Regions from separate parts of the Homo sapiens genome. Here all the other regions are linked to region 1. Evidence: promoter capture Hi-C in 16 types of primary human blood cells and fetal thymus (Javierre and others, 2016). All regions are on one chromosome and are shown on one strand. Each heading gives the region's core, a stretch centred on a gene start or on the middle of the fragment in contact. The rest is flanking DNA. Distances are from core to core; before and after follow the strand shown. Region 1 holds the start of MAP7D2 (MAP7 domain containing 2). Region 2 overlaps PDHA1 (pyruvate dehydrogenase E1 subunit alpha 1). Region 3 overlaps MAP3K15 (mitogen-activated protein kinase kinase kinase 15). Region 4 has its middle 11 kb from the start of MAP3K15. Region 5 overlaps SH3KBP1 (SH3 domain containing kinase binding protein 1).

Region 1 (5,158 bases), core at 1,705-4,204:
AGGATAGGTAAGCAGGTAGTGCTGACCAAACTACACTTCGGAGAGAAAAGTGGATTTGGCTCTTTACCTCACCCTATACAGAAAAATTGCTTAAGAGTAAAGCATTTTTTACTTTTTTTTTTTTTTTTTTTTTTTTTTACGTTTTTTACTATAAGCATGAGGGCAATGGGGAGTATCTTGGGACTAGGGAAGTTCGTATTAAGACTTCTTAAAATGCAAACCATAAGGTGAAAAATTTATGGATTTTATCACTTCGTAATCATTATGAGATCAGATCAAGCAAGAACCATCAATGGATGCTAAATCTAGAGAGAATTTTTGACGAAGAGTAAGTACCTGCATAGCCTTAAGGTGCCTCACCACAGTGCATTTTGCAAGAGGAAAACTACCTCTAAGGTGGAGGAACAGCCAATGGAGAGAAAATTACTGTATCCATGTGAAACTTAAGTTGGTAGTCAACTCTAGTATGTGTAACAGAACATTCATAATCTTAGGAAATACACATGGAAGTATTTGTAATGTAACTTTCAAAAACAGTTGATAAAAAATAGGGCAATATTGTAAATGGAGTAAACATGTTAATAGGATTTTGTCATAAAAATTAAGGAAAATTTTACCAATCTTAAAAAGCTTAGTTGGCTAGGATAAAATATTTGCAACATTTAAACCAGAAATTATCTAGAATACAAGAAACTCCTGGAAATCAACCAGAGTAGCCCAGTGGAAAGGTGGGCAAGGATTGAACAGGGAATTTACAGAAGGGTAAACCAGATAGAATGGCTAATCATTTTGTGTAGATTGAGAACAATGCCAAGAGAGGAAAAACAAATAGAATGATAGCTTTTATGCAGTGTCATTTATATACAATTAAAATACATGCGTATCTTCAAAACAGTATTTCAAAATTGCAGCTGCAAAGATATCAGAGGAGGTGTTTATAATTAGGGAGAGGAATGGAAAGTAAAAGGACCCCAAAAATAGAATAAAAGTAGAGAGGGATGCTACACACACATGTCCATGAGCTCAAGAGTTGGATGAATTGAACTCACCAAAGGTCCCTAAGATAAGGGAGGAGAAAGTGACAGCTCCCACGCTCTTAATTTGGCTTAATCTCAATGTGTTCGAGTTTTCATTACAGCTCAGGGTACCAGCCCCCACCTGCTCACTTTCCTACTCATTTATGTTTAAACTTCCTGGCTTTCTCACCACACTTGAACCCTACTCCCGGCACACCTTTGGGCGTGTCAGGAACACGTTCATCACAAACATTTTTTGTGCCACAAAGGGACTTTCCCAGCTTTGGCCAAGAGTACAGGTGCCCATTCCTGAGAGTTTCAGCTTCACATTAAAAAAAAAAAAATGAGACATAATTAAGGGACCATAAAATTCACCCGCTTAAAATGTACAATTCAATAGTTTTTAGTATACTTAGTTGTGCACTCATCATAATCCTAGAATATTTTCATCCAAAAAAGAAAACCTGTACCCATTATTCAGCTTCATTTTTAATCGTGTATATCTCCCCCCAGGAGTGGTAATAAAACTTTCAGGCTGGTCACCTTCCAACGAGAAAAAACATGCAGCCTGGGGCTCCATGGGAACGGGTTATCACTTGGCAGGCCTGGGTAAACAAAAGGCTTGAGCCGGCCCTGCCAAGATGTCTTTTTCAATGTTTTTGAAAAGATAATAAATGTGCATGGCAGTGGTAAAAGTGCCTACTTAGGAGGCAACCCGTTTAGCAGTTTCTTGTGTGTCTTCTCGGAGAGATCCTCCTCAGAGGTTTTTTGTTTTATTTTGCTTTTGAGACAAGGTCTCTGTCGCCCAGGCTGGAGTGCAGTGGCGTGATCACTGCAGTCTCGACCTCCCGGGCTCAAGCGATCTTCCCGCCTCAGCCTCCCAAGTAGCTGGGACCACAGATGAGTCGCCATGCCCAGCTAATTTTTAAAATTTTTTTGTAGAGACGGGGGTCTCGAACTCCTTAGCTCAATCAATCCGCCCGCGTCAGCCTCCCGAAGTGTTGGGATTACAGGCGGGAGCCACCACACCCGGCATCGCGGAGGTTTCAGTCAGCATTATTTACGCCTCAGGAGAAGAGGAACCAAATTGGCTGCGGAGTAGGGTGTCGTTGAAAGGCCTAGGTCGGCCTACGGCGCGTGCCGCTGCCTCTTAGTTGAAGATCGACCCCAATAGCTTGCTGCTGTCCCTCTCTGGGTGACCGCACGCTGAGGGTGGGGCGTCACTAAACACTGATTACCCGTGCGCCTCGAAAACTGGAACCTAACTATGCATGGAGGGCGGGTCCTCTGGCGTCTGCACAGATGTCACTGGCCCAACTGGCACCCACCTGGGGGCCTAGCCAGAAATTGTTCCCAAGGCTGCATTGCTGAGTTTGCATGCAGACACCCAGTGAGTGTAAGCGTGTGCGTGCTGAGTGAGCACGTGTGTGCGCGTTATGTGCTCTGTGTTCACACATTGAGTGAGGATGTGTGTGCACGGTGTCTGAGAAACTGCACCCTACATCTACACACGCTTTGAGTGTGTATCTGCTACTGTGAGAAGATGCATTTACGCTGGGTGTGCACGTTGTGTGTGCATGTTGCATGTAAGCATCGTATGAAGAACTGTGTGCGTACGCACGCCTTCTGTGTGTGCACTGTGTACAGCAGCGTGTAAGGACGCGTGCACGCCCGTACGCGCTGTGTGAGGACTGTTGTGCACATTGCATGCACACGCTACAAGCGCGCGCCGCGTGAGAACCGGTGCGCCTATCGCACGTGCACGCCCTGCGTGCGCTGTGCGTGGAAGCGGTGCGCCTATCGCACGTGCACGCCTTGCGTGCGCTGTGCGTGGTAACCGGTGCGCTTATCGCACGTGCACGCCCTGCGCGCGTGCTGCGTGAGGACGCGTGCGCATGCGGACGCGCGCGGGTTCGGTGCGGCGCGGCGGGCTTGGCAGTGCGCCTGTGCGGCCGGCGCATCCCGATGGAGCGCGGCGGCGGCGGCTCCGGGACGGGATCCCGGCCTGAGGGGACTGCGCGGGGAACCTCTCTCCCAGGGAAGATCGCAGAACCGGGCGCGGTGCGGACCTCTCAGCCCAACTACCGGCCTCAAGGTATTATCCCCAGAGTGTGGCGGGCGCCCGAGGGCTTCGGGTTCCTGTGGGGGGGCGGGCCCGGCGGCCCAGGGCAAAGGTCCTCGAGCGTGGGGGGAAGGGGCACGGCGCAGAGCTGAGATAAACGCCCTTTCCCTGGCCCAGGATCGTCCGGACGTGCATCCAAGGGCCGCACCCCTCTCTGTGCGAGTGGCGGGGTTCTTTCTTGGGGCGACCTGGGTGAGTGGGTACACATGGGGGGTGGCTTAGGGTGGGCGGCAGGTGTGTTTGGGATGGAGGTGCCTGAGGGGGTGCTGCGGGTCCAGTCCCCGTCCTCGAGGAGCAGCCGGCATGGGGGTCGTTAGGATAAACCGAGCGGGGTTCTGGGGTTGCCCCGGCCTCCGCGCGCGCTCTCTCTGCGTTCTGGGAAACGCGCGCGAGCGCCGCTGCAGCCCGCGGCGAAGGTGGCCCAGCTTCGCGCCTCTTGGCGTTTCCAGGGGGCAAAATCGGCGTGTCACCCATTGGCAGAGGCAGATTCGCCCGGGCGGCCAGGCGTCTGCCCCGGACCGGGTGCTCCTCCCGCCCGGATGCGCTCCCTGTCTTGGGAACGCTGCTCAGGTGGCCGGGCCGCGGCCCTCAATCGAGGCAGCGGGGCAAACAAGGCTCTCAGCCCTCGAGGCTGCCGATGCTGGGAGCCATGGAGGGCTGGTCCCTGGCTGCCCAGAAGCCAGCGAGGCAGCGGAGGAGACTGTGAGGACATTTGGCAGGATTTTAGATAAGCAGGTCTGATGCTAACGTTCTGTAAAGTGGTTGCAGGTAGTGCGGGGGTGTAAGCAGCATGGAAACCGATTTCATGCTGTTTTTCCTGACAACAACTTTTTTATTTTTAGTTAATAAGGCAGGCTATTTTTAAAACATTTTTTATTGCAGTCTAATATGCATTTAAAAAACCACACAAAACTATAATTCGATGAATTATCACATAGTGAAGATGGGAGTATTTTATATACGATGGGCCAAGAAAAGGAAAGAAATCAAGAGAAATCTTCTTAAAACACGCTTTTTCACTGGGGTTGAGGGGGCGAGGTAGTATTTTCTGACTGGGCCTTCAGTTGCATCATTCTTAGGAGGAGGAGATAGCTTAAATCATTTCCAGTTTGTATTTTTCATTATGCTATTTTAAAGGCAGAATTCATTAACTGTCACAGGATAACGTTATAACTACCTTTGAAATGTGTGCTTTTGTTTTTATCCTTTTTGCTTGAAACACTCAAGCTGCATCTGCTAGGGAAGAACCTGGAAACTACCCACCAGAACGACCCTCCGTGGCAGAGGCGACCTTGTATAATAAAACACTGAAAAGGAGAGGTTGTTTCAGTTTGCATTTTTATTTGGTTGAGAGCTTAAATAATAGTTTGTTTCGATGTTCTGTTGTACTCATGAGAGGTGGGGAGGGGCGGTATGATTGGGTTTTCAGTGTATCTTGGATTTTATTTGAAGGAACTTAAGGGGTTTTTTTTTTTTTTTTTTTAATGGAAACAAAATTGGGGAAGGGGAGGAGGTACTTTTGCGGGGGAGATTCTTAATAAGTTCTGTTTGGAAACTATTGTAGAATCATTTAATGCACTCTTCTGATATTAAGATTAGCTTAAGGATATCTTCCTTCATTTGAAATTGGAAATATAGAAAAATATGTGTGAAGGTTTAAAATGTGAAATAAGCACCTATGTGCATTAAGGTTGGTATGGTAAAATTGGAATGTTTAATTTAGGTGCCAGGTGATACCACCATTTGTTGTTTGGGGGAGTTAGCAAGGCCAGGTACTTAAGTAAAGTCTCCTTAGAAAAATTATGATTTTGAGGTTTTATAATTATCTGTCCTGGATACTGATCATTCTTGGTTACCCAGGCCCTTAGCATTTGGGACCCATTCCTAATGAGACTTAACCTGCTTTTCTAGAGAGTCAACCATTGTTCCTAAGCTTGGGCTGGGTGCTGTCAAGGCTGCAAAATACAGAAAGACCTGAGATGTTTAGGCTGTCCAACAATTTTGTGTTGCACACTTAGGG
Region 2 (3,438 bases), core at 939-3,438, 760 kb after region 1:
AAATACAGAAGTGTGTTTCTGAAACAAAGGGGCATACCAATGCTTATGTCACTATAGGCGTGGCAGAGTTGTTGTTATACTTTCAAAATACCAGAACGCAGCCTAACATTCTGTAATAACTGCTTCTGTCTTTTCTAGAAAACCGTACACTGGTGAGTCACATGGCTTCCCTGGCATTCCGACAACAGGGGCCAAGTTTTTGCTTGCTGCTTTGATTTAGATGTAAGGTTCTAAAGAAGTGTCACTTGTCCCACCCATTTGGGCTCCTGTATACTACATGGGTGGGGACAGCAGAGATGGTGTGTGTGGTGATAATTAGACTTTGAGACATCAGAGCGCCAAGCAGGAAATCCATGTGCCTTGCCTTTCTCCCTTAAGTCCCCCTAAAGAAGCACAGCCAGCAAAACCAATGTATCTTATGCCTATATCATCTGAAGTAACACTAAAAGGATTCTACCATTTTCAACAATAGATTTACACAAAGTGCATTTTTCCATATACTGTGCTCTCTACATGATTTTTCCTTAGAAGTCCACTCTACAAAGGCTTATTTATTCAACTGTGTCAAAACTGGGATTCCAGAATCACAGGCCAGAGCTACTAAGCAAAAAAGTAAAATTCATGCCTTCCTAGTGGAACCTAGCTTTTTTGATTGATGTATTTCAACGGATTGAACACCCAGTTACCCTTAGCTCTATACCAGACAGAGGAACATCTCCAAATTCTGATCCTCTTCAGGTAGAGTATGCCAGGTGTAGACTTGGGGTAATGCCTACAAAAGCTAAATGCCCCCAAGATACTACACTACCATCAGCCCTGTTTTATGTAACAATTTCCCTCTACAATTAAGGTATATAACACTCTTTCTTTAAAAATTGCTGCTTGTGCTCACACACACTATACACTGTAGGCATTTTCAGAAAGCTTTCTTATTAGGAGGCACTGCTTTCAGATAACTTGATGCCCAACACAACTGCGTACATGAAGTGAACTGGTATCTAGCTCCAAAAGCAAATACTGAAATGTGTTGCTTTTGCCATGTAACACCATTCAAAGCCCACCCCTATGGAAACCACACTGCCCATGAGCGTACCTGACTCCAGGGTCACTCATACTGTGTCCGTGGTAACGGTAAGTCTGCAGCTCCATCAGGATGGGCCCCTAAAACAGAACCGGTAGGCAGTTAGTTAGTTAGGAACGATGACTGGAAGAACAGGCCGGCAATCCACGGCCTCAAACGCAGGCCCTTTATTAAGCGTCCAGTGTAGTCTTATCAGATCTTCTGAGTTGTCACGAATTTCTTATTGGTTGACTGATCTGTTCTCATTTCTAGCAAGTATTGATTGCATATTTCATCTTTCTCATTTTTAATAAGGCAATCTGCCAACAGCTTGTTTTGAATCAAAAAGGCTTTGAAGGCCAGGCATGGTGGCTCATGCCTGTAATCCCAGCACTTTGGGAAGCTGAGGTGGGCAGAGCACTTGCGCCCAGGAGTTCGAGACTAGCCTGGACAACATGGCAAAACCCCATCTCTATCAAAAAATACAAAAATTAGCCAGGCATGGTGGCGTGCGCCTGTAGTCCCAGCTACTTGGGAGGATCACCTGATTCTGGAAGGTCAAGGGTGCAGTGAGCTGTGAGTGTGCCACTGCGCGAGACCCTGTGAAAAAAGAAAAAGGCTCTGAGCATGTTCTAGAGCCTCCTGCTATTGGCTAGACAGATTTCCATCTCATGCTCCTTTCTCATGGTGTGTTGTGGGGCTGGCAGCCACTCCTACTTCACAGACCTTGCTAGTGTGTAACAAAGTTGGCAGGCACCAACAACCTCTGCTACCCAAACCCCAAGGCTCTGCTGGGAGTCTGGACAGTTGGGCTCGCTCATTCTACACTAGCCCACTTCCAGGAGACGGCTCTGAACACTGGGGTGGAGAAACATTGAGGATCCTTGGTTGGTTTGGTGCAGCAGTTAAAATGGGCGAGTGGGGAGCTGGCTCCAAGACAGAGTAGCTGTGTACCTTTAACTGCTCTATGGCTCAGTTTCCTTGTCTGCAAAATGGGCAAAACAATAACACCTAACTCAGAATTGTGAAGGTTATCTGTTTGGGAAAGTCACACATTCTACAACTACATTCTACAACTCCCCTTGTCTCCAGCCAGGGCTGGCCCCCATGTATTCTTTTCAGGAATTGGGAGAGGTGGCGTCAATACCCATCACTCAGGGCCTGGCACTCCCAGCCTTAGGGTCCTGACATAGACTGCTCAGCCCATTGTACCCAAGCTGTAGTCTTGGTCCTGCTCTAGTTCATTCTACTCATTAGCTCTTATTTAATGTTACTACATTCCCACCCTCACTTCCCTGTCTCTCCACTTTGTGACATTTCCATCATTGCTGGCCACATCTGATTCACATCACTGCCTAAACGTACATGGTATGGCGCTGAAGTGCCAACTTCAGAAACCTTGTTTCTGGGCTGTAGAACACTGATTTAGGGAGAACACCCAAACCTCCTAAGCCTATACTAGTGCCAAAGGAAGTGAAACCTCTTTAGGCCAGTCTCCCTCTTACCATCTCCCTCACTGCCATACACTGAAAAGGGAAAGATCCTTAGGACTGAGCAAGACTAAGATTACGAGCTTCTACCATACTGTTTAATTTGTATAAGACACACATATTAAATGCCTATTGTATACATGACATTCTATGCTGGACACTGTGGGGATCCCCAATCTGTTCCTTCAAGGGACTCATGATTAATGGGGGGTGGGGAGGAGGGACAGAATTAACCTAAGGAAAAGGCAAATCAGTTGTCATGAAGACAGGCCAAAGCAGAGGAAGCACCAGAACGGACTTCCCCCAAATGAGAGAAACGTAGGCTTCCCAGCAGGTGAGCTACCAAGACCAAGCTACCCAAAGGAGCCCTGCTCCCTTCACTCTGCTTCCATCTCATGCACCTCAATTAGCAGGTACCCACTAACAGCTTCAGCAGGCACATGGGAGGCAGTCTTTGAACTTCCAGAGATAAATGTCACTAGCCCAGAGGGCTTTAGAGCCTTACCTTCCCAGATCTACAATAGGCAGCAGCAAACCTTGTTGCCTCTCGGACGCACAGGATATCCATTCCATCCACCTGGTAATAAACAGGGGAGGGGCGAAGCATGAATCCAACTGCCCCAAACCATTTTACTTTCACATGACCTGCTCCTGTATGAGAATGAAACTCTCCAATGTTTCTAAGATCGTCAAGGGTCTGCACAAGGACATACCCTTGGCCTTGGCCTTGGCCCCGGCCCCACCACAGGTGTCCTTACTCTCAGCCCAGGAATGAAATCGCCTCTCTTGTAGTAATCAGTGCTGGCTGCCGCTCTCTCAACAGACGTTCCCATTCCATAGCGATTATTCTCACAGATGAAAATACAAGGTAATTTCCACAAAGCTGCC
Region 3 (5,158 bases), core at 1,383-3,882, 730 kb after region 1:
TCAGCCACTGGACACCCACAGTGGAGACACATTCACCATCTAAAGAGAATTTTAATACATCACAAAATGACTTCTCACTTGTAACACAAGGGGAGGTACATGTGCCTGAAAATGGGAAAATACTATACCAGGGACACTATCAGAATCTCCCAAAGAAAGAGTGCATTGAATTTTCATTCATTGTTTCTGGTATAAATATACGTATACATCTGTCAATGTGTGTATATGAATATGTGTGTATGACTAGCACTTCATTTTCTTTTAGCATTTTACTACCCTAATTGAAAATGACTTGTATCCTCCTCTTTGGAAGCCACCAATTAGCTTGGCAATACATAGCAAGAGGGGCTCTGATATGACAAGGAGTTATTTGAAGACATAAAACCCCCAACAATTTATCTCATAATTAGCTTCCCTGAGGAGGAAACAAACTCACAAAGAAACACATGTATAATTCATCCTTGCATATCACACTTCCCAAGTAATTGGCTTGGGGAGGCACGGATTTTGCATTGCAAAAGAATGCAGGGGTGTTTGGGGGATAATAAGGAAGGGGTCTCATTTTGGTTAGGAAATTCCCCCGCATATAATTGCTCTTTGCAAAACAGAGCAGTTCTGTAAGGAAATCTCAGCTGGTTGGTGCAGAACTCTGGGTCTGTGGTTGCTCAGCCTGGCAGGAGAGCCAGAGGGTTTCAGTCAACTTCCTGGCCTGGAGCCCTCCCTCCCTGTGTTCCTCTGAAGGGTTTGCCCCACACATAGGAACCTGCGAGAACAGGAGGAAGGGCTGTTATAGCCAGGGTCAGCCCTGCCTTTTTTTTTTTTTTTTTTTTAGCAGCCTTATCGAGGTATAGCTGACATATCATCAAAGCACCCATTAGAAGTACTCAATTCTTTGGTTTTCAGTAAATTTACTGAGTTGCTCAGCCATCACCACGATCCAGTGTCTGGACCTAGCAGACCCCGTGCCCCTTGGTACTCATCCCCATTCCCACTCCAGCCCCAGCTCATCACTCATCTGCTTTGTTGTGTTTGTGTGGCTTTGCCCGTTGTGGATATTCATATGCTTGGAATGAATACAATATGTGGGGTTTTGCATGTAGCTTCTTGCACGTTGAGTCCTGTTTTTGCAGTTCCTCCATGCAGTGGTGTGTATGGGTACTTCGTTGTTGTTCATGGCTGAATGGCATTCCATTGTGTGGAGAACCACATTTTGTTCATCCGTTTACCAGTTAACAGTCATTTGGGATTGTTTCTACTTTTTGGCCACTGCGAATAATGATGCTGTGAACATTCACATACAAAGCGTGTGTGAACATGTGTTTTCAGCCTTCTTGGGTAGATACCTAGAGGGAGAACTCGGGACAGGAAGTCTGTTCTCGTCTGGCTGCAAACATCGTTGGTTCAAATCCTGGCCCAACCACTTGCTAGCTGTGTGACCTTGGGCATATTACTTAACCTCCATGTGCCTCAGTTTCTTCGTAAGTAAAATAGAAATGCTCGTTGTACCTACTCATAGGGTTTTTATGAGGGTAAAGTGAGTTACTGATGAAGTGCTTTGACTGGTCCCTGGCACATAGCAAGTGCAATTGAAGTGTTTGCTAATTAAATACTCGCTTGTACTTAGAAGTCATGGGTTATTAGAGCTGGAAGGAGCCTTTGAGAGAACTGAGTTTGTGTGTGTAACTAACGTGTTGAACCCATTGGACTCAAAGGGTGTAATCACAAAAGCCACTGGATTTTTCTCTCCCACTTTTCATCCTGCCTGGGGCGGGAGTTCTTTCCTTTGACTTTTCCAGCCACCCTTACATAACAGAGAAAGTCATAATGACACTTGAAGGAGCGCACACAGTCTGAATTCAGGAATTAAAAAGGACTCATCGCTTGAAGCCGGGAGGCGGAGGTTGCATGAGCCGATTGTGCCACTGCACTCCAGCCTGGGTGACAGAGCAAGACCCTGTCTCAAAAAAAAAGATTCAGGCTGATACTGATCAACGCTCTGGTCCTCATTCAAAAGTCAGACCCCTCTCCCGTCTCCCTGCAGGCAGCGACCTGTGGTCAGGAGCTGGGTGTTGTCTTTTTCTCCCTAATCACCAGCTGCAGGAAGGAGAGGACAGGGGCAGGGAAAGTTGTTACTTGACTAGCACTGTTGGAAGCTGGCTTTGCGTGCTGTGGGCCTGGCTGATGTTTAGTTATCTTCCCTCGCTGGCTCCCTCTGGATGTAACTCCTGTGTCGTGGGCAGGGGCCTGTCCTTTGGCTGACAGCCCCCTCCTCCCAGTTATTTACCCCTTACATCACCTCCTCCTTCCATCTCTTTCTGTTGAGGGATTCAGATCGTGGAGGACTGCGTTTGAGCAGGAATTCCTTTTCTTTTTTCTTTATTTTTTTATTGGGCAGCCCCTGGAACCAGAATAGGTTCTGAGAGAGACTCCCAGGATTCCTTTTAAGAAGACCATATGCTGGGCACGCCTGTAATCCCAGCTCTCTGGGAGGCTGAGGTGGGAGGATCGCTTGAGCCCAGGAGTTTGAGACCAGCCTGGCCAACATAGTGAGGCCCCGTCTTTACCAAAAATATAAAAATCAGCTGGGTGTGGTGGTGCGCACTTGTAGTCTCAGCTACTCGGGAGGCTGAGGTGAGAGAATCACTTGAGCCCAGGAGAATGAGGCTGCAGTGAGTCATAATTGTGCCACTGCACTCCAGCCTGGGCGACAGAATGAGACCCTGTCAATCAGTCAATCAATCAAATAAATAATACAAATAAAAGATAAACCCTAAGGCAGTATTTCTGTAATAGGGTCCCCCATCTGGTGTCCAGAGTTCAAGCAGCTTCAGCCCACTGTTGAGAGGGTGTGGCAGTATCCCCACACCTTACAGCCCCCTGTCTGCTGCTGGAAGTTAACCTTTGCTCACTTGGGTGCCAGTCCACTGTGTAATTTACCTACAGGAACACATACACATGGAGCTGAGTCGCTCAGTGAAGCCCCCTTCAAAGGCTTTGGGTTAGGAACAAGTGGCGCCACCTTTCCACCAGGCTTATCCCTTGGTCAGGTCAACTAGGGTAGTCCCCTGGACTATGGGAAAATCGTACCTTACTTTTCTTTTCTGTACTTGATTAATATGAAATCTTGAAATTTAGGCTCTAACGGTATCTCCAAGGGCCTGTGGAAGATGTGATGATCATAAGTTGGTATTGAGTGGCTTGAGTTGCCCTGGGCCCACGCCCTTTTGGGGACAGTCCTGCCCCAAATCCTGTAACTTGGGAGAGGGTAGGCAGCCCAGCATAGCTCTCTCTAAAGAAGCTGTCTCAGCACCACCCCCCTAAACTACTCTGTCAACTCTCTCAGCCCCTTGATCAGATTAGAAGGTCCCTGGGCCTCGGTTATAAACTTGTGTCTTCTGCTGTGTGTCTTCTTTGCTGGTAATCTGAAAATCCTATTGGACAATTCTCCAGGAGTCCCCAGTGGATTTTGTGCCCTAGGGGGGCTGAGTCAGTGCCTGTGGGTCTCTTGGTCACCTTGTTCTGAACTCTGCACCACTGCACTGGTGTAGGTACCTAAGAGCCGTAGTGGGCTGTGACCAGTGACCAGTGTGGTAGGGCATACCTTGGAGGAAATATAGGTTAGGGAGCATATGGGGCCCCAAGAGAGCCAGATTTTTGTTTGTTTGTTTGTTTTGTTGAAATGGAGTCTTACTCTGTCGCCCAGGCTGGAGTGCAGTGGCGCGTTCATGGCTCAGTACAACCTCCACCACCCGGGTTCAAACGATTCTCCTGCCTCAGCCTCCCAAGTAGCTGGGACCACAGGCACACGCCACCATGCCCGGCTAATTTTTGTATTTTTAGTAGAGACGGGGTTTCACCATGTTGGCCAGGCTGGTCTTGAACTCCTGACCTCAAGCCATCCACCTGCTTCGGCCTCCCAAAGTGCTGAGATTCAGGTGTGAGCCACCGTGCCTGGCCTATGAGAGCCAGATTGAAGGAAACCCAATTTTCCAGGATTTGTGCGTGATTCAGATGCCCCACAATGCCATCTTCACTTGGTTTTCTTGACAGAATCCAGCCTTTGGGTTAGCTGATGTACACACCCAACATGCATCCTGCCAGGGAGTGTTCCCTTGAGTATCTGAAATAGTTGTGTGCATTTATCTCTCTCTGTTAGCTGTTCTGAGAGTGGATGGTTACCTTGTGAATACAGTAGTGAATAAAATGGAGCACCCAGTTTTCCATTAGTGCCCTGTACCTTCCAGTTACATGGAAAGATGCTCCAATATGGCTTTGGAAATCCTTACACGTGCTACTCTTATTCAGGCAGCTTTTTTTTTCCAGCAGCGCTTCTTCTTGATGTAGTGTATGGATGAGTGATGTCATGGTGTGTAGTTCTGAACTTGAAGGTAGAAGATATGGGTTCTAGCCTAAGCGAATCCTTTAGCCTCTCTGAACCTCAGTTGCCTCCTGTGTAAAGTAGGAATAATGGTAGATAGTGCTTCCTCTGCCTAACCTTCCAGAGTCGTTTGAGTCAGATGGACAAGGCTATGTGGAGACAATTGGTAAGCCATCAAGTGCTCACCAGGAGTCAGATTTGTGGCAGGCAGCCTCCAAAATGACCCCCAATGATCCCTACCTCCTGATAGTCACACCCTTGCGTAGTTCCCTCCCGTTGAATGTGGACTGGACTTAGCAACTTGCTTCTGATGAATAGGAAGAAGTGGGAGTGATGGTGTGTGACCTGGACACTAGGTCATAAAAGGCAGTGTGCCATTCCTCTTTCTCTCGGATCAGTCTCTCTGAGGGAAGCCATGTCTCAAACCAGTCCTATGGAGGATCCCATGTAATGAAAAACTGAAGCCCCCCACTAGCTCTATCCTTAGTGAGCTTGGAAACTGATCCTCCAGCCCCAGTCCAGCCTTCAGATGACTGTAGCCCCAGCTGACATCTGGACTGCAACTTCCTGGGAGACCCTGAGCCAGGTCCACCCAGCTAGTTAGTTGCTGCTGGATTTCAACCCTTAGAAACGCTGTAAGACCTAACTATTTGTTGTTTGAGTTGATAGATTTGGGGGATCATTTCTTAAACAGCAGTAAATAACTAATATGAATGTCATTATTAAATCCTTGCCTTTAGAAAGAGTGCTGTTCACCATGGCTCCATATTTTTAAAAATC
Region 4 (5,158 bases), core at 1,121-3,620, 590 kb after region 1:
TATTTTTGAGATGGGGTCTCACTCTGTCACCCAGGCTGGAGTGCATGCAGTGGTGCCATCTCGGCTCACTGCAACCTCCATCCCCCGAGCTCAAGGGATCCTCTCTCCTCAGCGTCCTAAGTAGCTGAGACCACAGATGCACGCCACCACACCTGGCTACATTTGTGTGTGTGTGTGTGTGTGTGTATTTTTGGTAGAGACAGGGTTTCACCGTGTTGCCCAGGCTGCTCTTGAACTCCTGAGCTCAAGCAATCCACCCACCTTGGCCTCCCAAAGTGCTGGGATTACAGGCGTGGGCCACCATGCCTGGCCTATGTCCACATTTCTGACCTATCCTTAAGATAATTCCAAAATGTGGAACGTGAGTATAAGTTGCCTGATATTTTTAGCAAAAATCATTTTTGGCCAATTATAAACTTAGTTAATTATTAACATTAGCATATACAAGTGACTAACCACCCATCTTTCCTTAAAGTTGCATTTGCCTAAATCCTGATGGGGGTCAGGTCTGGATCTCTTTTTCCCTGATTGGTCACTGCTCCAATGTCACCTCATCAGAGAGGCCCTCCCTACCCCTCTAAATAAAAGAGCAACTTTAGCCTTGACCCACCCCCAGAGTCCCCATATCAACACCTCCTTCATTTGTTTTCCCTTGCTTGCTTTGTTTCTGTTTTCAATCTCCCCTCCCTTAGAATGAAACCACTCTGAGGATAGTGACTTTTCTGTCACTGCTCTATCCCCAGCACCTAAAACATTGACAGATATATATTAATAGTAATCACTTGATATGTAGTTGACTGAATAGATGAATTGGTAATTGTGACTGATGTCAAATGCAATTTATTCTATACATTTGAGCAGCCCGGTTTGACCTTTACTAAAACTTTAGTACAAAACTGGGGCAGTAGGGAAGCTCCACAGCAAAAGAAACAGATACAAAGAAAGCCTTCAGAGCACTTTACTTCTATATGAGTCTCAGCCAACACCCGGACCCTAAGGAGAGTGCTTCTTGCATTACGATGGTTCTCAAAACCAAGTTCATGTCATCTGAACACCATTTTCTCTAAGACGTCCAGTCACTACTTAGAAACCTGTGGCTACCTCTGTTTTAGAAAGTAAAGTTTTTTTTTTTTTTTTCCTATACTCATTCTGGAGGAAAAAAAAGAAATGAATTCTGGGCTGAAAATGGTGGCTCAAGCCTGTAATCACAGCAATTTGGGAGGCCGAGGCAGGTGGATCACTTGAGGCTAGGAGTTCGAGACCAGCCTGGCCAATGTGGTGAAACCCCATCTTTCCTAAAAATAGAAAAATTAGCTGGGCATGGTGGCACATGCCTGTAATCCCAGCTCTTTGAGAGGCTGAGGCGAGTGGATTGCTTGAGGACAGGAGTTTGAGACCAGCCTGGCCAACAAGTCCTGTCTCTACTAAAAAATACAAAAATTAGCCCAGCATGGTGGCACACACCTGTAATTCCAGCTACTCAGGAGGCTGAGGCATGAGAATCACCTGAACTTGGGAGGTGGATGTTGCAGTGAGCTGAGATCATGCCACCGCACTCCAGCCTGGGTGACTTGCAGGCTGCACTCCAGCCTGGGTGACGGCAAGACTCTGTCTCAAAAAAAAAAAGGGAATTCTTTGCTGACTCTTGATTCTTCTCTGAGGTCAGCTGAGAACCTAATTGCTCCCTCTCAGGGCAAACCATCTGCCCTCAAAGTGATGAGTAAGTGGGAAAGGTAGATAAGCGCTGAGCTTCTAGGAAGAGCCATAGAGCAGTGGTTCTTAGAATGTGATCCCCAAAAGAACAGCATTAGTATCACCACTGGGGAACCTGGTAGAAATGAAAATTCTTGCGCCCTGTCCCAGACTTCCTGAATCAGAAATTCTGGAAAGCAACCCAACAATCTGTGTTTTAACAAGTCCTCTCAGTAATTCTGATGCACGCATAAGTTTGAAGACCACCATCATGGGGGGATCAACTCATTCCCAGTGAGTTGTGTGTAGAGTAGCTGACAGCAATCTTTTCCAGAAATCTCTAGTTGTCCTTGGCTGAAGCAAAACAAGGTGCACTACTCAGAAATAATGCCGTAGTCTATTTGGTTGAAACATGTGAAACTAACATTTTTTTTAGATCAAATATGGTTGAATAGATAGGACTTCCAGTTTCAGCTCAGAGATATGGAAGAGCTGCATGAAATCCCTTCCTGTGCTAACAACAAGAAAAAGTCTGGACAGACTGGAAATTAATAGAGAACTAAGTTCAAAGAGCAAATGGCCATTTGAAAATCTGGGCCAGGTGTGGTGGCTCACACCTGTAATCCCAGCAGTTTGGGAGGCCGAGGCGGGAGGATTGCTTCAGCCCATGAGTTCAAGATCAGCCTAGGCAACATGTCAAGGCCCCGTCTCTACAAAAGGGACAAAAAATAGCCAGGTGTAGTGTCGCCTGCCTGTGGTCCCAGCTACTTGAGAGACTGATGCAGGAGGATCACTTGAGCCTTGAGGCTGCAGTGAGCCGTGATCACACCACTGCATTTCAGCCTGGGTGACAGAGCATGACCCTGTCTCAAAAAAAAAAAAAAAAAAAAAAAAAAAAAGAGGCTAGGCACTTCCTGCAAGACACAGGATCTGAGCATTTGGTTACCAAGGGCAGAAACCACCAGATGCCATAGAACTAGGTAGAAAGGTCAGGCTAGAAAATTTGACCAATTTCTGGAAGCCAACTGTGGGCTAGCTTGAGAGTGTGCAGCTCCTAAGAAAGACTGTCATCCTTCTGCAGGCTTTTCCTCCAGGAACCCCACCTGGTTCTCACAGGGAAGATCAGGGGAAATCCAGAGAAAACTCATGGTGCTGGCTCAGGAACCACTGAGAAATCTACTCAGACCCTTCTCCCTTAAGGAACAAAAGGCTATTCTGCATGGGGAAAGACATGGTCCGAGGGCCCTGGTGAATTACCATTGCAACTAGGGGAGGGAACTGCACTCAACTCTAGCTCTTCATCTCAACTAAAAACAATTCAACCTTCAGAGAAAAGGGCTTCAAGTCTATAGACTGAAAACACTTGTAGATACCCACTGCAGCTGGGAGAAGGGAATGGGAGGGAGCTCTGTCCCTGGAGGAGAAACAGAAACAACTGTGAAAGTTACACCCGAGACACAAGCCCACTGTGCACTCCAAAGACTGAAGTTTAGAATATTAGAGAATCCATCTCCCAACAGCATGCTAACAAGCCTCCAGGAATAACAATAGCAGGGAAGACTGCAAGAGACAGACGTTGGGGAGCAGCACAAAGGGAAGCCCCAAAGCCAAGAGAGGTGGGGGACAAAAAAAGATCACTAGAGGAATCTGAAGTTTGTAATGTTCATAGGAAAACAAATCTCAACACAGCCCAACTCCTGGCTGGATCAACATAAAGTCCCACACTAAAGGTTTATTATCTTAGTATCTGCTGCCCTATATACAATGTCCACCTTTCAACAAAAAATTACAAGGCATGCCAAAAGAAAAGAAAAAGCATTCTGAAGAGACAAGTGATCAGATTCAGACTTAGATATGGCATTGCTATTAAAGTATCAGAGAGAGAATTTTATTTTATTTTATTTATTTTAGATGAAGTCTTGCTGTGTCACCCAGGCTGGAGTGCAATGATGTGATCTCGGCTCACTGCAATCTCTGCCTCCCAGGTTCAAGCAATTCTCCTGCCTCAGCCACCCGAGTAGCTGGGACTAAAGGTGCATGCCATCATGCCTGGCTAATTTTTCGTTTGTATTTTTAGTACAGACAGGGTTTCACCATTTTGGCCAGGCTAGTCTCGAACTGCTGACTGCAGGTGATTTGCCTGCCTCAGCCTCTCAAAGTGCTGGGATTACAGGCAGGAATTTTAAATAATTATGATCACTATGGTTTTAGTTTTAGTTTTTTTTTTTTTTTTTTTGATATAGTCTCACTCTGTAGCCCATGCTGGAGTGCAGTGGTGTGATCACGGCTGACTGCAGCCTCAACCTCCTGGACTCAAGTGATCCTCCTGCCTCAGCCTCCCAAGTAGCTGGGACTACAGGCATGCATCACCACAGCCAGCTAATTTTTTGTATTTTTTTGTAGAGATGGGGTTTTCCCATGCTGCCCAGGCTGGTCTCGAACTCCTGAGCTCAAGCGATCTGCCTGCCTCAGCCTCCCAAAGTGCTGTGATTACAGGTGTGAGTCACCGTGACCAGCCCGATTACTATGTTAAAGTCTCTCACAACCTAAGTAGACATCATGCAAAATCGGATAGGTAATTTCAGCAGAGATGGGAACTATAAGAATCAAATGGCTAGAAATAAAAAACACAGCAACTGAAATGAAGACTATCATTGATGGGCTCATCAGTAGACTTGAATATTTACATTTACTTGGATAGATAGCAAAACTGAAAAAGATAAAAAGAGAGAAGGCAGCCATTAAAAGTATAGTAAATAAGAACAACTTTATGACATCTTGGGCATCTTTATGACATCAACATCTTAGAACAAATGGACCAATTCCTTGAAAACCACAAATTATCAAAACTTAACCAAGATAGAATGGACAATCTGAATAGTTATATAACCATTAGAAAAAATTGAACTTGTAATTAACACACCCTGAAAAAGAAATCTCCAAGTCTCAATGACTTCACTGGAGAATTCTACCAAACATTTGAAGAAGTGACACCAATTTTACCCAGTCTATTCCAGAAGAGAGAAGACAACAGAATAGTTCCCAAGCTATTTTATGAGGCTAGTATTACCCCGATATACAAACAAGGCAAAGGCAATACGAAAAAAAATGAAAACAAAACTACAGATCAATATTTCTCATGAACCTGGATGCAAATATCTTCAATAAAATATTAGCATATCACCTTCAGCAATGCGTAACAAAAATGACATGCCACAACGAAGTGGGATTTATTCCAAGAATGCAAGGTTGGCTCAACGTTTGAAAGTCAGTGTAATCCACCATATCAACAGGCTAAAGAGAAAAAATCATATGGTCCTATCAATTGATACATAAAAAGCATTTGCAAAAAAATGCAATACCCATGCACAATAAAGACTCTCAGCAAATTAGGAACAGAGGGAACAGCACCTACAAAAAACTTACAGCTAACATCATCCTTAGGGTGAAAGACCTGAATGTTTTT
Region 5 (5,158 bases), core at 1,377-3,876, 550 kb after region 1:
GCTTGGGCTGATGCAATAACAGAAACTCTGGCCTGCTGTAGCTTTTGTTCTGCTTAAAGTGCAGGCAGAGCAGAGCAGAGCAGTAATTGGCTGTGAATGAAAGGGGATTGTCAGAATGAGCCTAAGTTCCGGTTCTACCACCGCAGTTTCGTATTTGGGCCCTGTTTTAAGCCAGGGTGGCTGGTTGGTGAAGGTCATGTGCGACCTCAGGAGGCTGTCTTGTCACCTCCCTCATGTCAATAGGAAGGGAGGTATTCTCCCTCCTCCAGAATATACAGGATAATCTGTCTTGCTTGCTAAGAGCATTCACCTTTGACCTTTGCATTCTTTGGGTCTGGAGATGTCTATGATCGCTATCATGAAAATATGAATCACATGTTTTTCAGTCTGATGAGCTAGTGTGGAAATATTGGGGGTATTGATGGGGGGGCGGGTTCACCTATAGAAGCTTTTCATGCTGTGGAAACTAAGCACAGTTGCATATATTTGGGAGCCCAGAAATAGAGTACTGAGGTTTGGTTTTCTCTCTCTCTTTGCCACAGAGACATTAATCCTAGAAGGCTATATCTTCTCAAGTTAATGGTATTTTTGTTTTGAGATAGTCTTGCTCTGTCACCCAGGCTGGAGTGCAACAGTGCAATCATTGCTCACTGCAGCCTCTAACTCCTGGGCTCATGCAATCCTCCCACCTCAGCCCAGGAGAATCGCTTGAACCCGGGAGACAAAGGTTGCAGTGAGCCGAGATCACACCACTGTACTCCAGCCTGGGGAACAAGAGCAAAACTCCATCTTAAAAAAAAAAAAAAAGGTCTCCAAAACCTAGTAATCATTTTGTAATGTAAAACGTCCCCTTAGGGTGTTAAATGTGTGTATTGTTGTACACCATTTTAAAAAATCAAGGTCCACCTGGACTTTGATCTGTAGCTGATTACAACCCTGGTGAAACAATAATCCCAAAGCGTTAGAAAGGATTAAGAGTGTTTTGTAAGCATGTTTGGGGTAGAACATGCCTTTATAACTTTTAATCCTCGTTGAGGTACAGTGTGAGTACAGGAGCTGTGTGTGGAATATCCTTGTGTTAGAATCATTCTGCTAATATAGTGGAGAACAAACCCTCCCCCTTCATCTCCCCTCTTCCATCGTCCTGAGGTTCTAGTGTTGAAATAAGAGCAGTGAGAGCAAGCAAGAGTAAGGAAAGAAAGAACTAATATTCACTGGGTGCCCACTAAATGTTTTGTCTATTTTTTTCTCACCGTCCATAGCCCTATGAAGGATGTGTAATGACTCATGTTTTTACAGTGAAGGAACAGGGAAGAAAGCAAGCTGGGGAAACTGAGCAAGATTATCTGGCTAGTAAGAAATTGGAGTTGAAGGCCAGGCGCGGTGGCTTACACCTGTAATCCCAGCGCTTTGGGAGGCCAAGGCGGGCAGATCACCTGAGGTCAGGAGTTCGAGACCAGCCTGGCCAACATGGTGAAACCCTGTCTCTACTAAAAATACAGAAATTAGCTGGGTGTGGTGGTAGGCGCCTGTAATCCCAGCTACTTGGGAGGCTGAGGCAGGAGAATCGCTTGAACCCGGGAGGCGGAGGTTGCAGTGAGCCAAGATTGCACCACTGCACTCCAGCCTGGGGGACAAGAGCGAGACTTCGCCTCAAAAAAAAAAAAAAAAAAAAAAAAAAATTGGAGTTGAAGCCAGGTCTCTCTGACCCATGAGCCCAAACCTTCTAGGTCCACATCAGCATTTCTCAACTGCTCTCCCCAAGGGGACATTTGGCAATGTCTGGAGACATTTTTGACTGTCACATCATAGGGGTGGGGGTGGAGATGCTACTGGCATCTAGTGGATAGAGGCCAAGGATGCTGCTAACCATCCACCAGTGTGTAGGATAGCCCCCACAGACAACAAAGAATGACCCAGCCCCAAATGTCAATAGCACCGAGGCCCAGAGAGCCCAGTCTGTGTTAGGAACAGGAAGAGGACAGGCTTCCCCTGCAAGTGCAACTTGTGTTCCCTGGAGTGGCCTGTCTCATTTCCTGAGAATCTCTATAAAACCTAGTTTGAAAATATTTCATATACAAAAAAGTAATTATATTTGAAGTAATTAAACATCAACCAAGGACATGACTGTGACCTTTGTGAGAGAGAAAGAGGAAGGGGGGGGAGAGAGAGAGAGAGGCGAGAGAAGAGAGGGGAGAGGGGCCATCTTAAGGCTTGCAGCAAGTGAAATGATACCATTTGAGTCTGATTTCAAATAGAAAGAGTATTGGATTTGTGATTAGATATTTGCCAAAGATCAACTACCCAGTGTTTAAACGGGTATTACATAAAAGGACAATAACAAATTTGATCAATACTAAGTTCTAAATCTGTACTCTGTATGGTAAAGTTATACAGGAGAGCAAGAGAGAGCAATTGTAATAGCGACCATTAACACAACATTTTTGTGAATGTGACACCAAATGTCTACAAACAAGTGATTACATTCTTACCTTATTTTGCAATTTCTACCTTTCATGATAATAAATCACTTCTAAGGGTTTCTCATACAAATTTTGAGGAAAAATTCAGATCTCCTGACTTGGGGCTATTGGTTTTTCTGTCCTGTTTTTAAAATACATATTTTAAACTTCCCCTTTTGGAGCCAGAGAGCCAGTTATTGGTCCTTGCAGCATGTCAGATCATTGAGCAATTGCTCAGGTTCAATAAAACAAGATATACTGTGTCCTGCCTGCCATTAAAAAAAAACAAAAACCCATGAATGACACTTGGAGTGTTCCAGATTGACTACTGGCTGAGCGTGTGTGTGAACAACAGCCGCGCCTTCCAGCTCTCTCGGGATTAGTTGCTCAGACATGAGAACTTTCACTGAAGAGCCACGGCTGGCTCCTACAGACACTGTCTCCTTACTGGCAACCTTCAGACACAGCCTTTGGGACCAAGGACATGGTTGATGTTACCTGTGCTGAAGAACAGGAGATACGGTTGCTACTGGTCTACAGTCAAGTCTGCATATGACGGGCTGCGGTGCCCATGTGTGGACGTGTGCAGCTCCGGTCCCTATCTAGGGACACAAATCGTGATCAAACTTAAATTTTTGTCAGGAGTAGCTGAAAAGCACTATACATTTCTCAAGTGTGATGACAGAAAGCAAAAGAGATTGTGCTGAGGGTCAAACGCTTTATACAAAGGAAGTGAAACAGGTTGCGCTTCTGATTGATGGGTTTTTAACCCAGGCAATCCTCTGAGCATTTTGGGTTCCTTCCTCGAACTTACAGAGGCGTAGCTAATTCAGAACAGCTTCTGTGGATGGCCTTCTCCCTGCATCGCCCTTGAGCCCTCCCCTGGTTCCCAGCCTCTCAGGCTCACAGTGGAGGTGTGCTGCTGAGGAAACAAGGTCAAGTTGGCAACCAGCACTCATTTCGAAAGGCATCCTCCAGTCCTACAGGAGATGGTCCTTCAGGGCCCTTTGAAGGGCCTGATCTTGGGTGTAAAATGAGCATCTCCACTTAGACTTTCTCAGTCAAAGATGTTGATCCTCACCAGAACCGAGGTGCTCACCTCTGCCTGTGCACCTTGCACAGGGCGGTCCTGCTGGCCTTTGGTGGTCCATCACGGTGGCTGGGTTTGTGCTTAGTTATGAGGGTCTTCACGAACATCTTTTACCCCATAACATCCCATAAGCGCAAACTCAGTAAACATTGAAAGTGCCTGTAGGAAAAGCCTCACAAATGCTATAGAAACAGGGGGAGATTACGTCAAAGTGGGGACATGATGGCAAATGTTGCAGAACCTCACTGCAGCAGTGCATTTGGTGGTATGAATTATTCCAATATACAGAGAGCAAATTAGTACTGTCCTACCCAAGTGCTCTATACCCACCAGCCTGCAAAATAGCTGACCTGAGAGAGGTGGAGGGACATTTAGGGAGCATCAATTCAGATGGCTGTTGGCTTGGAGAGGGTCACAGAGGCTAGTAGCTGTGTGGACTTGCAGGCAGCCCCAAATGCTCACCTATGTGCAGAGTCAGCATGTCCTGCCTCCCCTGGTAATGTGGTCGCCTGCATCTCTGTGGCCAGCGCTCTCGTTCATCATTCAGTCTGATGGCTTGAGTGCCTCTATGTTTGCTACATGCTGAGACCGTATTCTAGTGCCGTATTCTGGAGGTACTGGGTGTACCTACAGATTTAAGAATGCAAATCTGGAGGTACACCCAGTGGATTCAAAGTAGTCTCATAGAACAAAGAGACTTATATAGTGACCTTTGCTGCATCCACAGTATACACCACAGAGGTCTCTGAACTGAAAATGAATGTGGAAGCAAGGGAACAGGTGATGTTCAGCTCTCAGATCTCACATGGCATTTATTTGGCTTGAGGTGCCCCCCTCCCCCTGTCCCCTGGCTGTGGGCTCATGGATTGGCAGAGCCCAGTTATGGCTTCCGTTTTACTTGCAAATATCCAGAGGAATGTACAGTCTACCAGAAAATTGTGCTCAGGCATCCCTTTGTCACATTAAAAGCATTATGGACACACGACATTTTATTAAGTATTTTGTTCTGGTATCACTTTATTAAGTAAATTATCAAAATCCTTATTTAGCCATGGACTCTCATTAAAGCATGTTCTGGAAACCTTGGCCAAGGTTAGGAGCCTGTAAAGTTTGATTCATTGCAAGAGAAAAGTGATTAGCAGTTGGAGAGTGACATTGATGGGCCCCATTAAAAGGTCATTGGATGTGGTGGTGGCAAGCGAAGGTTGGAGTTGGAGGTCAGCAGGATGCCCTGATTTAGAACCAAGCTTACCTTTGCATAACCTATAGTGACACTCTCTTCATCTCCCCACGCCTTAGCCATGTCTCCCTGAGGTTCATACTGTTTGGAATTTCACAGGCTCATTTATCAAAAAAAAAAAAAAAAGGCTTTCAATTTGGGAGACGGCTTGATTTTTCTTTTATTAATGATGCACATTCAAAATAAACAAATGCCATCTCCTACTGGAAAGGGTATAATCTCCAAGTGTAAAATTGAACAAATTTAGCTTAATGGGAAACTCACAATGTTGACCTTTTTCTCAGTGCATTATGACTGGTGATAACCTTGGCGCAGACACGTGCCAGTTCTTTTGAAAACCATAGGTCCAGCTCACATCTGCAAAGA

What was found. Contacts are between HindIII fragments. The CHiCAGO score rates a contact against its expected background, and 5 or more counts as called.
Region 2: a contact is called between a fragment that was not itself captured here and the fragment with the promoter of MAP7D2 in region 1, in 5 of 17 cell types (total CD4 T cells, naive CD8 T cells, neutrophils and 2 more). The highest score is 7.7, in total CD4 T cells.
Region 3: a contact is called between a fragment that was not itself captured here and the fragment with the promoter of MAP7D2 in region 1, in 1 of 17 cell types (neutrophils). The highest score is 5.9, in neutrophils.
Region 4: a fragment that was not itself captured here is called in contact with the fragment with the promoter of MAP7D2 in region 1 in 1 of 17 cell types (non-activated CD4 T cells); the score reaches 5.2 in non-activated CD4 T cells.
Region 5: a fragment that was not itself captured here is called in contact with the fragment with the promoter of MAP7D2 in region 1 in 6 of 17 cell types (endothelial precursors, naive CD4 T cells, non-activated CD4 T cells and 3 more); the score reaches 6.4 in endothelial precursors.

Annotation. Positions count from the first base shown.
Region 1 is chrX:20,114,703-20,119,860 of GRCh38, reverse strand. MAP7D2 (MAP7 domain containing 2) reads left to right here and starts at 2,954. Exons shown (of 17, transcript NM_001168465.2): 1 at 2,954-3,111. The coding sequence starts at 2,982. The HindIII fragment of the contact is 4,441 bases long and covers 633-5,073 here.
Region 2 is chrX:19,355,375-19,358,812 of GRCh38, reverse strand. PDHA1 (pyruvate dehydrogenase E1 subunit alpha 1) reads right to left here. Exons shown (of 11, transcript NM_000284.4): 7 at 3,309-3,438; 8 at 3,056-3,127; 9 at 1,094-1,161. Among named protein-coding and RNA genes, the nearest start is that of PDHA1, 13 kb to the right of the region's middle. The HindIII fragment of the contact is 2,524 bases long and covers 927-3,438 here.
Region 3 is chrX:19,384,974-19,390,131 of GRCh38, reverse strand. The region is part of intron 18 of MAP3K15 (mitogen-activated protein kinase kinase kinase 15); the gene reads left to right. Among named protein-coding and RNA genes, the nearest start is that of PDHA1, 44 kb to the right of the region's middle. The HindIII fragment of the contact is 8,970 bases long and covers 1-5,158 here.
Region 4 is chrX:19,523,801-19,528,958 of GRCh38, reverse strand. No RefSeq gene overlaps it. Among named protein-coding and RNA genes, the nearest start is that of MAP3K15, 11 kb to the right of the region's middle. The HindIII fragment of the contact is 7,748 bases long and covers 1-5,158 here.
Region 5 is chrX:19,561,576-19,566,733 of GRCh38, reverse strand. The region is part of intron 13 of SH3KBP1 (SH3 domain containing kinase binding protein 1); the gene reads left to right. Among named protein-coding and RNA genes, the nearest start is that of MAP3K15, 49 kb to the right of the region's middle. The HindIII fragment of the contact is 4,351 bases long and covers 451-4,801 here.